Regions from separate parts of the Homo sapiens genome. Here region 2 is linked to region 1. The links are contacts of gene promoters, found by promoter capture Hi-C in human tissues and cell types (Jung and others, 2019). All regions are on one chromosome and are shown on one strand. Each heading gives the region's core, a stretch centred on a gene start or on the middle of the fragment in contact. The rest is flanking DNA. Distances are from core to core; before and after follow the strand shown. Region 1 holds the start of ATG14 (autophagy related 14). Region 2 has its middle 120 kb from the start of TMEM260.

Region 1 (2,569 bases), core at 49-2,548:
TCAAGTTTAGTGTAAACTGTATTCTGAATATAGAGAATTTTTGCTTTTGCTTGTTTTTGTAATCCTACGTGATTTGTATTTAAAAAGACTGGGTAAGATTAAGAAGACGGAGGAGCAAAGGGCTCAGATTCAAGACCTAATTAGCTTGTAGAATCACCAGTTTTCGATGGTGATGTGGAGATTAACAGGGAGGGACGGGCTAATATGAATCATGGCTCTTGGCTGTAAATCATCAGTGATTACGTCCTTTACCAAAGTAAGAAAACAGGTTTGTAGGGAGGCAGAAGTCAGTTTCCAACACTTTGAGTTTGTGGTGTCCTGGAATGTCACCTGATACCTAGTAAGTAGTTCTGGATCTTTGGGTATGGAACTTGAGAAAGGAATCCTGGCTAGAGAGAGAATTCAGGGCAGTTTATCAGTAGATAGCCTAGTAAAATCATCCTTGAGAATCACTGGTCTATTTAATCTCACCTATAAACTCACTTTTCTCTGTAGTTTAGAGGCATATTCAAACACTAATTACTCTGATATGATCCTCCCAACACATCACCTTATATATCCCCTATCCACCAAAAGAAACTTGAAGGGAAGTCCTAACCATCTACCTAGTTCAAATTCTCTTAGAGCATGGCCCAGGGTAGGGAAGGTACGTTAGCCACGTGATTAACTTTTCAGAAGGATACAATTCTGATTTTGCACGTTCACTTTGGTTGTTTTCACTATTGGTAAAGTATAATACTATTAACCATATTAATCCTCACGGCATTAGATGGGTACTATAATTCTATCCATTTAACACGAGAGAACAGGCGCAGAGAGATTAAGGAACTTGCCCCAAGTCACACAGCTATTAAGCAGGTGAGTGAGCCAAAATTCAACCTAGTTCCAAGACCCAGCCCCTTCACCCTACTTTGTTTGCTGTAGTTTAGCCAGATTTTAAAGCATCCACAGCAAGTTAAATTCCCTTATTCCGCTCCCATTCCGTTTTCCCAGAATCCTTAGGGTATGGTATTACAATTTTCTGCACAAGTTTGAGGCTTTAACTCGTAGTCTTGGCCTGAGCCAGCAGATGACATTTTGTTTGGCCGACTAGCCCCTCTAATATAACTCTCCCCCTGCTTCGGGACCTGTTGCCCCTCAGCAGACCGGAAAAACAACAGTGCCCGGGACAGGAACACGCGGCGGCGGAGGGGTCCGGGGGCTCGCCGGCATCCCAGCCCCCCTTCCCCAGGCCCCTCCTCCTGGCCCAGAATGCACCCGGTTGAAAACAAAATCCCACGTGACTGGCTCTCCTCTCAGGCCATCATGGCGTCTCCCAGTGGGAAGGGAGCCCGGGCGCTGGAGGCTCCTGGCTGCGGGCCCCGGCCGCTCGCCCGGGACCTGGTGGACTCCGTGGACGATGCGGAGGGGCTGTACGTGGCTGTGGAGCGCTGCCCGCTGTGCAACACTACCCGCCGGCGGCTGACCTGCGCCAAATGCGTTCAGAGCGGCGATTTCGTCTACTTCGACGGCCGCGACCGGGAGAGGTACGGCGGCCGCCACGGCCCTATTGTTTCTTCTGCTGTGTGTCCTCCAGCCAGGCAGCCGAAGGCTGGAACCTGGGGCTCCCCGTCCGGGCACCAGATACCAGCGAGAGGAGCGAGAGAGAGGGAGTGTAGCTAGCTGCTCTGCACCGGAGCTTTGCTACCAGAGGACAGCGTAGGGGCCAGATGAGGGAAGGTCGCCGTTTCCCCATCACCCACCCAAGAGGAGTTTGACCCCACGGTGCTCTTGGTCACTGGGGAAAAAAGGAATAAGTGGTGACTCTCTGGAGAAGTTTTCCCGTTGCTGCCATTAAGTTAGATTCCCAGCTCTTTGCTGTATGTACTCCCATTCAAAAGCTTGGCTTTCTATTTTCGAAAGCATATTTATACTCATTCTCTAGAGGAGAGAGTAGAAGAGAATCAAATAACTGCTTTAGAGGGATTTGGGCCTGGTAGTCTGTCACAGATGGACTTTGTTATCAGACATGCTTACTCTAATGTGTGAATTGAGGCTTGCTGTTAACGCCCCTTTCCCCTCCCTGCCTCTAAAGATTATTTTAGATTCTTAGGAATTTGGGAACGTGTTTTGGCCTTGTTTTAAAATTCAGATTGGGAGCTGCATGCTTTTAGTTAAGAGAATTGCCTTTAGGAAAATGTTTTGGTTTCATTTCGAAATCTAAACAGCTACAAGTTCTTGGTTAAGAAAATTGAAAAATTAGTGTGATTAGCTGCAGGATCTCCCACTCTCAACTTATGTTTCAACAATTTAGTGTCAATGATAGTCAATGATAGTAAGATAGCTAGCATTCTGAGCACAAAAATTCAGGTATTAATTCATTCGCAACAACCGAATGACTTATCCCCAACTTATTAGGAAGCTGCACAGTAAGTGCTTTGCCCCAGGTCACACAAATAGTTAAGTGTTGGTACAAGAATTAAAATTCAGACAGCTTGGACCTATGTACCCGCACTTAACCACTAGACTTTATATCCTCTATATTTGGGAATGTTTTGAGTTCTTAGTATTTCTGTGATCGTGGATGGAG
Region 2 (2,569 bases), core at 32-2,531, 1.0 Mb before region 1:
TGTTTAGTGCTTCCTTCAGCAGCTCTTGTAAGGCAGGCCTGGTGGTGACAAAATCTCTCAGCATTTGCTTGTCTGCAAAGGATTTTATTTCTCCTTCACTTATGCAGCTTACTTTGGTTGGATATGAAATTCTGGGTTGAAAATTCTTTTATTTAAGAATGTTGAATATTGGCTCCCGCTCTCTTCTGGGAGATCCGCTATTAGTCTGATGGGCTTCCCTTTGTGGGTAACCCGACATTTCTCTCTGGCTGCCCTTAATATTTTTTTCCTTCATTTCAACTTTGGTGAATCTGACAATTATATCTTGGAGTTGCTTTTCTCGAGGAGTATCTTTGTGGTATTATCTGTATATCCTGAATTTGAATGTTGGCCTGCCTTGCTAGGTTGGGGAAGTTCTCCTGGATAATATCCTAAAGAGTGTTTTCCAACTTGATGCCATTCTCCCCGTCACTTTCAGGTACACCAATCAGATGCAGATTTGGTCTTTTCACATAGTCCCATATTTCTTGGAGGCTTTGTTCATTTCTTTTTACTCTTTTTTCTCTAAACTTCTCTTCTTTCTTCATTTCATTCATTTGATCTTCAATCACTGATACTCTTTCTTCCACTTGATCGAATTGGCTACTGAAGCTTCTGCATGCGTCACGTAGTTCTCGTGCCCTGGTTTTCAGCTCCATCAGGTCCTTTAAGGTGTTCTCTATGCTGTTTATTCTAGTTAGCCATTCATCTAATCTTTTTTCAAGGTTTTTAGCTTCTTTGTGATGGGTTTGAACATCCTCCTTTAGCTTGGAGAAGTTTGTTATTAGCTATCATCTGAAGCCTCTTCTCTCACCTCGTCAAAGTCATTCTCCATCCAGCTTTGTTCCATTGCTGGCGAGGAGCTGCCTTCCTTTGGAGGCTAAGAGGTGCTCTGATTTTTAGAATTTTCAGCTTTTCTCCTCTGGTTTCTCCCCATCTTTGTGGTTTTATCTACCTTTGGTCTTTGATGATGGTGACGTACAGATGGGGTTTTGGTGTGGATGTCCTTGCTCTTTGTTAGTTTTCCTTCTAACAGTCAGGACCCTCAGCTGCAGGTCTGCTGGAATTTGCTGGAGGTCCACTCCAGACCCTGTCTGCTGGGGTATCACCAGCGGAGGCTGCAGAACAGCAAATATTGCAGAACAGCAAATGTTGCTGCCTGATTCTTCCTCTGGAAGCTTTGTCTCAGAGGGGCACCCAGCTGTATGAAGTGTCAGTTGGCCCCTACTGGGAGGTGTCTCCCAGTTAGGCAACTCGGGGGTCAGGGACCCACTTGAGGAGGCAGTCTGTCTGTTCTCAGATCTCAAACTCTGTGCTGGGAGAATCGCTGCTCTCTTCAAAGCTGTCAGACAGGGATGTTTAAGTCTGCAGAAGTTTCTGCTGCCTTTTATTCAGCTATTCCCTGCCCTCAGAGGTGGAGTCTATAGAGGCAGGCAGGCCTCCTTGAGCTGAGGTGGGCTCCACCCAGTTTGAGCTTCCTGGCCACTTTGTTTACCTACTCAAGCCTCAGCAATGGCGGACGCCCCTCACCCAGCCTCGCTGCCACCTTGCAGTTTGATCTCAGACTGCTGTGCTAGCATTGAGCAAGGCTCCATGGGTGTGGGACCCTCCAAGCCATGCACAGGATATAATCTCCTGGTGTGCTGTTTGCTAAGACCATTGGAAAAGCACAGTATTAGGGTGGGAGTGTCCCAATTTTCCAGGTACCATCTGTCATGGCTTCCCTTGGCTTGGAAAGGGAATCCCCCCACCCCTTGCACTTCCCAGGTGAGGCGATGCCCCACCCTGCTTCGGCTCACACTCCATGGACTGCACCCATTGTCTGACATGCCCCAGTGAGATGAACGCAGTACCTCAGTTGGAAATGCAGAAATCACCCATCTTCTGCATCGCTCATGCTGGGAGCTGTAGCCCCTGGTACCTATTTTATAGGATTGCTGTGATGGTCAAGTGAGTGAATAGATATAAAGTGTTTAGAACCATGCCTGGCACAAAGCAAGTACTACCTTGGAGCTTGCTATTAAAATAATTTTAACATAATTATGTATATTTATATAAAAATTTACATAATAAAATAATAGCAAGCTCCTACACAGTGCTTGCTTTGTGCCAGGCATGGTTCTAAGCACTTTATGTCTATTCACTCATTTGACCTTCACAGTAATCCTATAAAATAGGTACCAGGATTATCCCCATTTTACAGATGAGAAAACTAAGGCACACAGAGGTTACGTAATTAGGAGATGTTGCAGGTCACTCAGCCTCTAAATTGGATCTAAGATATAGATGCCATAGCTCTTTGAAAAGTTAAAAGCAACAGACATGGGCCAAGGGACATAATGACAATCTGGATGGTGACAATGGTGATAATGCTTGGTCAGTACAGACACACATATCCAAGTAAGAACCAGAGCAAGAGGGGTAGACAAAAGCCAGTCCAAGTTCTCTGGGGGCATTATACTTATGTAATTTGGGGTCCCACTTTAAGAAAAAGTTCAAAATTACATACCAAAATGAATATTTATTTAGAGAGAGAAAAGAAATCACAAGT

What was found. The method cuts DNA at HindIII sites, captures the fragments that hold promoters and counts their contacts. A contact is called where the count stands out against the background at its distance.
Region 2: a fragment that was not itself captured here is called in contact with the fragment with the promoter of ATG14 in region 1 in 1 of the 25 tissues and cell types used here (dorsolateral prefrontal cortex).

The regions. Positions count from the first base shown.
Region 1 is chr14:55,410,559-55,413,127 of GRCh38, reverse strand. It overlaps ATG14 (autophagy related 14), which reads left to right and starts at 1,298. Exons shown (of 10, transcript NM_014924.5): 1 at 1,298-1,526. The coding sequence starts at 1,306. It also overlaps a transcript of FBXO34 not described here. RefSeq lists a silencer at 1,009-1,308. The HindIII fragment of the contact is 14,251 bases long and covers 1-2,569 here.
Region 2 is chr14:56,453,864-56,456,432 of GRCh38, reverse strand. No RefSeq gene overlaps it. Among named protein-coding and RNA genes, the nearest start is that of TMEM260, 120 kb to the left of the region's middle. The HindIII fragment of the contact is 3,696 bases long and covers 1-2,569 here.